Linked DNA regions of Homo sapiens: region 1 is linked to region 2. The links are contacts of gene promoters, found by promoter capture Hi-C in human tissues and cell types (Jung and others, 2019). All regions are on one chromosome and are shown on one strand. Each heading gives the region's core, a stretch centred on a gene start or on the middle of the fragment in contact. The rest is flanking DNA. Distances are from core to core; before and after follow the strand shown. Region 1 overlaps XPO4 (exportin 4). Region 2 holds the start of IL17D (interleukin 17D).

The links. Contacts are between HindIII fragments. The study calls those that stand out against the background at their distance.
Region 1: a contact is called between a fragment that was not itself captured here and the fragment with the promoter of IL17D in region 2, in 5 of the 25 tissues and cell types used here (dorsolateral prefrontal cortex, heart left ventricle, hippocampus and 2 more).

The regions. Positions count from the first base shown.
Region 1 is chr13:20,816,244-20,822,345 of GRCh38, reverse strand. XPO4 (exportin 4) reads left to right here. Exons shown (of 23, transcript NM_022459.5): 8 at 57-214; 9 at 468-642. Among named protein-coding and RNA genes, the nearest start is that of EEF1AKMT1, 45 kb to the right of the region's middle. The HindIII fragment of the contact is 5,973 bases long and covers 1,062-6,102 here.
Region 2 is chr13:20,702,262-20,708,247 of GRCh38, reverse strand. IL17D (interleukin 17D) reads right to left here and starts at 4,549. Exons shown (of 2, transcript NM_001385224.1): 1 at 3,957-4,549. The coding sequence starts at 4,246. RefSeq lists silencers at 3,728-4,237, 4,528-4,667, 5,088-5,167. The HindIII fragment of the contact is 9,244 bases long and covers 2,110-5,986 here.

The DNA.
Region 1 (6,102 bases), core at 2,799-5,298, 110 kb before region 2:
CGTGACCCTTACAAAGGAAGAATTTATATTTATGGATTAGTAATTCTTTCTAACAGGTACATCGAAAAATCAGAGAAGATTCAGATATGGCACAAGATTCTCTGCAGTGCCTTGCCCAGTTAGCTTCTCTTCATGGACCCATCTTCCCAGATGAAGGATCACAAGTTGATTATCTAGCACACTTCATTGAGGGATTACTGAATACTATCAATGGGTAGGTATACTTGCCCTTTGCAGCTGAAAAAGGAGCTCTACGTTTTGTGTTTAACAGTAGAAGAAAAAAAGAAACTAGTTATTTTTTCCCCCTTATATTTTGAAGTAAAGTCATATGGGTAATTTGAAATTAATAAACAGAGACATACCTTTTAAAATGAATCAGTAACGATATTTGCTTGTTTGGAAATGAGTTATTATATTAATAATTTTTCTTTTACTGCCACTTAATAATACTCATTCCTTGGTTTTAGAATTGAAATAGAAGATTCTGAAGCTGTGGGGATCTCCAGCATTATCAGCAACCTGATAACCGTGTTCCCACGAAATGTTTTAACTGCCATTCCAAGTGAACTTTTCTCCTCCTTTGTTAACTGCCTCACACACCTCACTTGTTCTTTTGGGCGAAGTGCTGCATTGGAAGAAGTGGTGAGTGACTATTCTAAAGTAAATTGTGTCAGTTTTCACAAGGAAATTTGCGGTGCCTTTGGAACATTTCTCATGACAAGTAATTATTTTAAGTGAGTGCTGGCTATTGTTAAAGTGACTGTTTTGTTTAGATGTGCAAATTATTTGGGAAACATGACCTTTAAAAATTTGTGGATTAAAATAGCTTTAGTTGGTGATATTTACTGGTCTTAAGCATTTAATTTTGAGATAATTTAGTACCCAAATATAAGAGATGGAATGAAATGAGCTGTGGTTTGTTCAACACAATTTTTCATGTAAAAATTATGTCGAAGGCTCTTTCTAACAGCAAAAACATTGTTTACAGGGTGTTGCTGTGGTGTGGTGTAATTACGTGTAATTTTTTTTTTTTTTGAGAATTTTTTACGTTGGACTTATTTGGCAATTATGTAAACATAATTTGGTTCAAATCATTGAAACCTTGCTTATTTTGGTTAGACTGTGCTCTCTAATTTTTTGGATGATAATGCTTTAATAGTGTATCCTGGTAGAATTTAATTTACATTGAAATTAAGACCAATAACAATACTGAAGATGTTTTTTGGTACAAATTTCCAAATGTGTATTTTCCATATTTTATATTTAAATTTAGACGTCTACTAAAACCCCTTGAGGACACAGCTGCTTTTGTAACAGTTACTCTGAATAGCTGTATTAATCATGGAAAAAAATTGATTTCATTCCACAAAGTAGTGATTAAATTGTTGAAACTAATTTTTCTTTTTATGAGTCAAAATGTGAATCTTTCTGAAAGGCTGTAAGAGGAAAAAGAATGTAGATATTTTGTTAGAATTTCATGTTAAATTGTAAGTTGTGTTGGTTAGATTCTGCCAACGTGTATGTGAGTTTTTTCGTATCCCTTCAGAGGTGTTCAGAGAATAGAGAACTCGAGAATGATTATGTTTATGTAATCGGGCACTTTCATGATTTGATGAGGAAAGGAACCAGGTCAGACAAGTGTTTATACGGTAGAGAAAATGTAGTAACAGAAAAATAGAAGTTTAAAGGCATGATATGTACAGTTGAATGTTTCAGAGGGATACTTTACATTCTAAACATAAAAATCCAGGGTAATTTTAAGTATTTAACATTTTAAGTATTTACAGTTTACTCAAACCTCTTTCAAATGATCACAGATTCTGAACTAGTCAGGTTTTATTTAACATGAATTCCTTGCACTTTCCCTCTCCACCTTGGTTTATTTTCTCTTCTAAACCAGGTGGATTAAAGAGCATGTTGATCCTATATTTAGAAACTAAGCTCCTTTTAGTTCTGTTTGTGAGTTAAGCGTGTTCCTAAACGTTTTAAAGAATTGCTGGAAGATATATGGCATCCTTGGTTTGCAAATTTTAAGTGCAGAATTTATTTGAGGACACTGACATCTTGACAATTTTTCCTTCAAGATTTGACATAGGAGTGTTGGAATATAGAAAGCCTGCATGCATTTGCAGAGAAGCAGATGTGTGTTGTGCTTATTTCACAGCAGGCGTGCTCTAGTGAAGATGAACCTAACAGGTTTCATTCAAGAAAAGTATTATTTCTTTTCATTTATTTTACTCTTTTAATTAATTTTTAATTGAGCTGTTTATGATATTTAAAAATTATTTTTTAAAATAATTGGTCACCTATTGAAAAGGACAGAGGGAAAAGATCTGTTTAAAGTTTTGCATTAGTCGTAGAAACCAGGTTGGGGATGTGTGGTGAAGTTGAGGGCTAATGGGGTGGCCCAGGCATGGTGACTTTCTTAAGAGTAAACCTCCTAAATGTCATCTCAACCTCAAGCGGTTTCCGTTGTATCTTCTGTATGCTGGGAGTAGAGGACCAGGGGAGTATACAGCTAATACCAGAAATATAGGAACAAATCCAGCCAAACCAAATTGGACCTCTGGGACAGAAACCATTTCATCTTTTGTTTTCTTGGGCACCCAGTAATTGTAGTAATAGTACATAATACGTAGTTGTCCTGAGATGGAAAAGTATATAAAGACATGATCTTTTTTTTTTTGAGATGGAGTCTCGCTCTGTCGCCCAGGCTGGACTGCGATGGCACGGTCTTGGCTCACTGCAACCTCTGCCTCACAGGTTCAAGCGATTCTTCTGCATCAGCCTCCCGAGTAGCTGGGATTACAGGCATGCGCCATCACGCCCGGCTAATTTTTGTATTTTTAGTAGAGACGGGGTTTCACCATGTTGGCCAGGCTGGTCTCAAACTCCTGACCTCGCAGTCCACCCACCCCAGCCTCCCAAAGTGCTAGGATTACAGGTGTGAGCCACCGCGCCTGGCCAAGACATGATCTTTTAAGTAAAATTTGAAAAATTGAGGCATATTAAAGATATGAGTTTGGGAGTTAACATGGGATGAAAAGATGATGAACTTTTGAGGGAGACTGCACAGTTACAGGCCAGGCAGTCATGAAGAGCAAGAGTTCAAGCAAGCTGCTTCACTTTTTTTTGGAGCATGTTAGCTTATTGGTAAAGTCAGGGTATGAATTCCTTCTACTGCTTTATGACGTGGATTAACTGCATGAAAAGTACCTGTATAGGCCGGGCTCAGTGGCTCACGCCTGTAATCCCAGTACTTTGGGAGACTGAGGCAGGCGGATTGCCTGAGGTCAGGAGTTCGAGACCAGCCTGCCAAACATGGCAAAACCCCTTCTCTACTTAAAAATATAAAAAATTAGCCGGGCATGGTGGCGGGCGCCTGTAATCCCAGCTACTTGGGAGGCTGAAGCAGGAGGATCTCTTGAACCCGAGAGGCGGAGGTTGCAGTGACCCAAGATCACACCACTGCACTCCAGCCTGGGTGACAAGAACGAAACTCCATCTCAACAAAAAAACAAAGGGGAGGGGGAGGGGGACGTGTATAGTGTACAATAATTTATTACAAGCAATAACATGTAGAATAATTTTTTAAAATGAGCCTTTAAAATAATAGCTTTTATTGAAAACCTGTGTGCACTCTTACCACATAAGAACAACTGTTGAGTTTTGTTTGGTGCAAACTAATTATAATTCTAATTTTTTAAAATTATTTTTTAAATGATTTTTATAATTGTAATTTTGTGAAATATTGAAAGCTTCTTTTTCCAGTAGGAAAACAGGTTCCACATGTAAGACTTTGTTTTACTGTGAGAATACTTTTTTCAGAGCTGTGTTTGTTTAGGAATATATACAGATTATCATCTTTTTTAATAGCAATTCATGTCTTTGATGGTGGTAACGTTGTGTAGCAAGGGAAGAAGAGCATCTTCATAGGAAGAAGCATTCTTGATACCAGTGTGTGTTTTTGAAACCCATGTCATAAAGCCACCTTGCTGGGTGGCTTTAGCATGTGAGTGAAGAGACATATTTATGAGTACTCTGACTTGCAGTTAACTGAGAGTCTGTGTTCACAAAGAGCAATTCTGGTATTCAGCCAAGTTTCTCTGTGGCTGCAGAAGTTTCTTGATATTATTTGAGACTTTTTGGAGATAAGAATTTTTTCATTATACCCAGAAATCAAATTATTATCTATTGCTGAACTGAAGAGGTAAGAATGAATGTGGAGATGAAAAAGTATTGCCTTAAAGATTAAAATCCTGCTGGGCTTGGTGGCTCACGGCCGTACCTTGGGAAGCTGAGGTAGGCAGATCACCTGAGGTCGGGTGAGGAGACCAGCCTGGCCAACACATCGAAGCTCCGTCTCTACTAAAAATACAAAAATTAGCCAGGCATGGTGGCACACTCCTGTAATCCCAGCTACTGAGGAGGCTGAGACAGGAGAATTACTTGAACCCGGGAGGCAGAGGTTGCAGTGAGCTGAGATCATGCCACTGCACTCCAGCCTGGGTAATACAGCAAGGCTTTGTCTCAAAAAAAGATTAAAATTCTATCAATAATTGTTCATATTAATACAACAGCTGTTTTATAAAAGATTTATAATAGTAGATGCATTTGAATTGTTTCAGTGAAATTCAAGGAGAATATGACTAGAACTGTATACTCTAGTTTGTTTCTTGGTTTCTTTTATAATTAACCATTTTGAGTTCAGCCAAGTAGGTGAAGCTGTGCAGTATGTTGCTACAGGAACAGAGCAGCCTTCATAGCATTGAGGTATTTTGTATATGCATTTTGATGTATGTGTTGTGTATAAGGGCAATCGTGGTAAATAACAATTTATAAAGGAAGAACCTTACATCTAGTTTTAGTATATTTGTAGCCTAATCTCAAGACCAGCAGGACAAGGTAGTAAAGAAAAAGGTACTTGATAAAGTTTTTAGGAAGTTGATTATAGAATGTAATGCAATAAAATAAATTTGCAATTTGTCAAGTGAGTGAGTGTATTTAGAGGTCAGCATTCTTGATTCAGAATTTAATTTCTCTGGCTTGTTGGGTAATTACTTTGTAGTGAGGTTATGTGACAAAAAGGAAGCCATAAATTGAAGCCAAATTACAGATTGAGAAGTGGGGAGCATAAATTTTGGGATATCTCAGTGATAAGAGGGAAAACAATACTTATTCTCTGGATGGTTGTGTCCGTACAGTGTAACTGTGTAGTCTACCTTGCACCTTCACCCATGAAAGGATGGATTGTTTGAAGATCCTTGCCAACATCCCCACCAAACGGTTCTTGTAGCTATAAAAGAATAAACTGATGATACTGGAGAGAGCAAGCTGGCTGTCCAGCGCCCCCCACCCATCAAGCACATTCATTTCCTCTGCTTAAAAGATAGAATTAAATCCATGAGTATTTTTTAAAGCTTGCACATTAAAAGTATACTTTTTAGAAATAATAACAATAGTTTTAGCTCTACCAGGATATTTGGAAGAAAACTAGTTACTATTTTACCTTAAATACAGATTCGTATTAAAAGAAGTGTTTTAAGAATTGTTTTAATGTTTTAATTCTAATTGGATGATAACCATGTAATATTTCATGACTTGTATGAGTCAGCTCTGATTGTTTAAATCTGCTTTACCAATCCTAGTGCAGAACCAGTGTTAAGTTTCACAGAATTCTTGCACCTTTAGTGCAGTGGATTTAGAATAAAGCTTACTTACTGTTATAACTATTGTTCCATATCATATTTAAGTGATCTGTCTGTAAGATTTTTCTAACAGCTGCAATACTTGTCTACTAAATCCATTTCTCTTGGGGGATTCCAGAAACCAGGAATACTGTCAGCTGCATAGGTATTCTGAAGTTAAATTAATTCTGTATTTTAAGAACTAGCTAGAAAAAATAAAAATAACTAGACGTGGATTTATTTTTCATTTGACATTCAAAGACTTCTAAATTCCTACATTTTTAAGTGGAGAGTTCATGAAGTTTTTTTTGTGACATTTGTGTCACTATATTGTTCCCATATTTGCCTTAAATGATACTTCGCTAGGAAAGAATCTACATACCAATAGCAGATGAATAACAGCATAAACTAATAG
Region 2 (5,986 bases), core at 3,300-5,799:
CTGTCTTTCTCAGCATTCTCTCTGACTGCTGTGCCTTTAGGGCGTGGTGGCTTGGGCCTGTAATCCCAGCACTTTAGGAAGCCAAGGCAGGCAGATCACTTGAGGCCAGGAGTTCGAGACCAGCCTGGCCAACATGGCGAAACCCTGTCTCTACTAAAAATACAAAAATTAGCTGGGCGTGGTGGCATGCACCTGTAATCCCAGCTACTCCAGAAGCTGAGACAGGAGAATTGCTTGAACCCAGGAGATGGAGGTTGTAGTCTGCCAAGATCATGCCACTGCATTCCAGCCTGGGTGACAGAGCAAAACCCTGTCTCAAAAGAAAGAAAGAAAGAAATACCACCTGACCCTGTGCCCAGCCTGCAGGTGGGCACTCCTCTACCCAGGCCCCACCCTCAGACACTCCACCAAGGAACAAGCCCTGGCCTGGCACCATGGCTTACGCCTGTAATCCCAGCACTATGAGAGGCTGAGACAGGAGGGTCACTGGAGCCCAGGACTTCAAGACGAACCTGGGCAACAAAGTGAGGCCCCCATCTCTAAAAAACAAAACAAAAAAACTAGCTGCATGTGGTGGTGCGCACCTGTGGTCTCAGCTACATGGGAGGCTGAGGTAGGAGGATCCCTTGAGCCTAGAAGGTCAAGGCTGCATTGATCTGTCTGTGTCACTGCACTCCAGGCTGGGTGGCAGAGCGAGATTCTGTCTAAAAGAAAAAACCTGTCCTTCCACAACATCTTTTAGTAGAGGCTCCACACTTCCATTGGCTCACTATTTCTTTTCCTTTTTTTTTTTTTTTTTTTTTTTTTGAGACAAGTTCTCACTCTGTTGCCCAGGCCGGAGTGCAGAGGCACAATCATAGTTCACTACAGCCTCAGCCTCCCTGGCTCAAACTTCCCAAGTAGCTGGGACCACAGGCAAACATGACCACACCTGGCTGTTTTTTTTGTAGTGATAAGTCTCATACTATGTTGCCCAGGCTGGTCTCAAACTCCTGGGCTCAAGTGATCCTCCCACCTCCGCCTCCTGAGTAGCCGGGGATTTACAGGTGAGCCACTGGGCCTGGCTGGGTCTCACTTTTTCTAATCTTCCCAATAACCCAAAAGATGGTGAGAGGTGATTGGAGGGAGGAGGGCAGAGAGGGCTCTCCTGGCAGGAAAATGCAGGAGCAGCTTTGGCAGTCAGCAATCTGGAGTCCCAGCCCAGCAGCCATCCCCTGAAGACTGTCCTTCCTTCAGCAAATATAAGCCACCCACCTCCGTTTGCCCATGGGGAGTGATCTCATCACTGTTGCTAAATAATATGAAAAATGATGCACATGACACCTTCAGCCACCCTGCTGCAGCTGCCACTCCTGCTCCTGGGACCACCCAGCACTGAGGTTCCACATGTGGGCAGATCTGGGTGGCCCAGACCACGATCCCCGAACCCTGTGTGTCATTCTCATCCATAACCTCCCTCGGCTCCCAGATCCTGCCTGGGGCGACATAGGTGTCATCTGTAGCAAGGGCAACTCAATTTAACTTCCCACACACAGAATGCCAGTGCTGCTAACTCTCCATGTGTCCTCCAGCCCTGCTCTGTCTCCTGAGCTCCAACCAGTCATTGTCACCTGTACGCCTTTCAGGCAGGCAAAACTCAACAGGCTTGTTACTAAATTCATTATTTCCTCCCACAACACTTGTTCCTAAGTGTATTTTCTCATTTTGCTCAAATACCATCAACAACCCAAGCCAGAAACATGAGAGACATGCCTTTGGGAGGCTATATACTACTCTTAGGCCCTTGGCCCAGCCTGTGGGGAGCCACGGGTTTGCCTGAGAGTTCGAATCTGCTATAGAAAGCAGGGCCAGCAGCTTCTGTCCAGAGAAGTTAATCTCTGGTTCTGAGAGATTCCTTATGTGGCTTTAATCCTATTTGGTATATCAGAAGCATAACACGAGGTTAGAGAAAGAAGAATGCCGTAGTCCATCCCTTCAGGTCCTGGAAATGGAGGAAGAGAGAGGAAAAGCAAGAGCACCAAGATACCAGAATGAATGGCGCCATGTGTGTGCCCTGCAGGCTCCAGCTGAAGGACAGGAGTGAGAAGGGCGGGAGGGGTCCCACCCAACTTCCCCGTGGGCAGGGGCTCTGAGGGGGCTCTGCCACAGTGAGCTTGGTCCTCTGCAGAGTAGCCAGGAGGCAGGAGGCCCTAAAACTTGGCTTCCCAGGACAGCATAGGGGTCCTGTGTGTTGTTGAGTAAAAGGAAATCTCCCTACCCAGCAGCCGGCAGGGAGAGGCTCCAGGAAAGCCCAGATGCGTTTTAGACAAAATCATCACATTTCCTCTGACTCTCCACAGCACTTGTCTTCTTTAATGAGCATCTTTCACGCTGATCCTAGTCTCCCCTTCCCACCGCGCTGCCTGAGTGAAGCCCTAGATCCTTTGGATGGAAGTGCTGGAGAGCATTGTCCAATCCATGCCCCATTGGGACACCCTCCTAAACCAGAGTGGCTGTATGGCTTCCTCCATCTCAAGTGTCAAGACTTTTTTTCTCTTTAATTTTTATTTTAGAGACGGGGTCTCGCTTTGTCACGCAGGTTGGAAGGCAGTGGCGCCACCACAGCTCACTGCAGCCTGAACCTCCCGGGCTCAATCTATCCTCCCACTTAAGCCTCTGGAGTAGCTGGGACCACAGGCACGTGCCACCACACTTCGCTAATCCTTAAAAATTGTTTGCAGAAATGGGATCTCGCTATGTTTCCCAGGCTGGTCTCGAACTCCTGGACTTAAATCCTCCTGCCTCGGCCTCCCAAAGTGCTGGGATTCCAGGCGTGAGGGTGAAGCTCTGCACTGCTGACAAGGCGGGGATCCAGCTCCTGCACCTGTCTCCAGCCTTACATCGATGCCCACCCCACAGGCAAACACCTCGCCTACGCCCCCCCACCCCCACCGCCCCCGCTCGCCTTGTGGCTCTCCCCATTTTCCAAGCGCTTTGTTCCCGCTTGCTATCAGCTGTCCCTTCCCTCAGCACTGCCTTTGTAGGCGACTTGCTCTCCTCCATCAAGACTCAGCTCTTTCACGAAGCCTTTCTTGACCTCTGTGGCCCTGGGAGGCCTTGCCCCCTAGGGCAGCTCCTCCTGCTCCAGCTAGAGGGAAGACGGTCACAGGTGCCTGCTGAGGACACTGCGGCACCCTGCCTACACGCCCCCAACTTCTCCAGCCTTCCCCTTCTGCAGGCTGTCCCTTTCTTCTGAAATGACCTCTGTTCCAAGACCAAAATACTCTCGAAACTGTTCATGTCACTTCATGCACTGCCTGATGGTGTGGTTTCTTTCCCAATTATCCCCACTCCTTCCTTAGGCTATTAAACTAGAGGGGCTCAGAGGGCGCTTCCCAGGGCTCCACTCCAGCAGCCTCTGGACCACAGGGGCACTCAGGAAATATGTGGATAGTACCGCGCACCCCCCAGCAGCACCTCCCCGGGCCCCCTGTGCAGAGTACGGTCCACATCACTGTGTCCACATCACGGAAGGGTCCCCAGCTAGTGCCTTGCGGACCCATCCAACCTGGAGGAGATGAGGTGTTCAAGAGATACGTGTTGCATAGGAAATACTGGAGGGTAAAGAGAGGAAGCAGGACTCCTTCAAGGGAGGTGGTGGGGGTGGGCCTTCGCAGTTTAGGAATTGCCCCCCAGTGCTCCAACTGCCCCGCCCCACCCCGCCTCATCGCAGCGCCCCTCGCACCCCACCCCACCCTACCGTACCCTACCCTGTCTCGCCCCGCACCACCCCACCCCTACCTGCTCCGCCTCGCCCCGCGTGCCACGCCCCCTCCGCGTCGCCCCGCCCCAACCACCTCCCCTTCCCCGCCCCACCCTCCCCGCCTGCCCGGCCTCGGCCCGGCCCCACCCACTCTCCCCGCCCAGCCCTGCCCTCCCCACCTGCCGGGCCCCGCCAGGACGCGCCCGCGGCTCACCTGTAGGCCCAGGGCGACACGCTGCGCAGGTTGGTGGGCGGCCGGAAGCGGCGGTCGGCGGGCCTGCCCCCTGCCGGGCAGCTCGCGTTGCGCGCCTGCTCACGCGGCCCCAGCTGCAGCGTGTGGTGGAAGGCACTGAGCACGCCGGCCGCCAGGCGCCCGTACAGCTGCTCCAGTAGCTCCTCCGGCCGGTCCGCGCAGCCCCGCGGCCGCGCGGGGCGCCTGCCCGCCCTCGGGGCGCCCGCGGCCCAGCTCGGCGGCAGCGCCAGCAGGAAGCCGGCTACCAGCATCCAGACCTGAGGGACAGGCCACGCTCAGCGTCCGCACGCGCCGGAGGAGCCCGCCTGCGCCCCGCGCCCGTGTCCCGCCCGCGGCGCCCGGAGCCGGCGGGCGCCTCCCCTCGCCCCGCGGAGCCAGAGGCCGGCCCGGAGGATGGGAGCCGCGCGGGCGGGCCCCAGAGCGCCCTCCCCGCCTGCCCGCCGCCCGCGGGGTCCCCGGGGCCCAGCCCGGCGCCGGCCCGCGCGCCCCCGGCCCCCGCCGCCGCCGCCGCCCCGAGCCGGGGGCCGCACGGGGGGCGGGTGCGGGGCGCGCGTGCACGTGTGCGTGTGCCTGCCGGGTTGCTGCGCCGCGGGCTGCGAGTGCTTGTGACCCGCCGCACCCTCACCCCCGGGCGCGCCATCCCTGCTCCGCCGCCAGCGAGGGAGCCCCGGAGCCTAAGACGCCCGGACCCGCCGCCTCGCAGACCCACCCTTGCCCCTGCGCCTCGTCATCCGCCCGCCCCAGCCAGCCCGCGCAGGGTCCGCGGCCCGCTTTTCCGCGAGAAGCCCCCTGTGGTCTTTCCTCGTACCCGGGGACTCGGACCGAGAAGCCGACTGAGCGAGGTCGCCGCCCGGCCTCACGGACACAGAGCGACTCTGCACCTTTCGCCTCCAGGAGCTGAAAACATTTTGTCACTTGTGCAGTGTACTCACCAGTGCCCCCAACATCTTCTCCCCCGAAAGCGCTTTCAGATTCGCGCCGAGATGGGGCGACGCGGCGGCTCTTGAGCGGAATAACCCGAAGGGCCACGCAAACTGGGGCTTCCAGCCGCGAGCATGCGGCGGGGCGCCCAGGGCCTGGGGTCGCGCGCTCAGGGCCTGTGCTGCGCCACGCAGGAGGAGGAGAGGGCTGGCCCTGCCGGGCGCGGGTGCGGGCCCGACTGGCTGAAGGAGGAGTGGGGACTGGCTTGGAAGTCTCCGAAGCAGAAAAGTGGGGCCGACAGGATGGAATTGGGGGAGGCCGATTTTGGCTCAGAGAGATTTCTCTATTAAGGAAAGCAGTCCAAGAATAGGCCCCCTGGAAGAGGAATGCGCTCAAACCCAGAGGGATTCTCCTTAGAGCTACCTCTTGAGATTCTGTACTTCGAGGAAATTAGAGGTTTTTTTAAATCTCTATTTTTAATAAGGTGGGAGGAGGCTGTTGCTCCTTTCTCCTCAACAACATGAAATGATCCTGTGCCTCTATCCAACAACTCTACAACAAAGCACTGAATACTTCCCTGACTGGCACTTTCATGGCTGTTCATGGGCATCTCTTGGTCTATGACGACGATGTTGGAGAGTTCCTACTCCGTGATAACTCAGTTCTAAGTGCAAGCAGTCACGTGAAATGAGCCTGATAGTCTGCGAATGAAGAAACTAAAACGAACTATATTATATACTTCATAACACAAGACAACGTGCTCGTTTGTTCATTCTGCAAGTAAATGCTTAATGCTTCCTAGGTGGCAGGCTAAAGAATATGATCATTTTAAAGCAGTCATGCTTTGAAAATAAACAACCCATCCCAGCTGTAAGCTTTTTGAAAGTGTACAAAATATGTAATTGATGACTCCCTAAATGGTTTGCAGCTTTGGTATTTGACTGAATTGTAAACCATTAGTTAAACTACATTTCAGTTATGCTTTGTAGGAAAAACACTTTCCTATGCATTGAATGTTCTATAACTAAGGAGCTTAGTAATCTACTGCTAAAAATCTCACTGAAATCTCC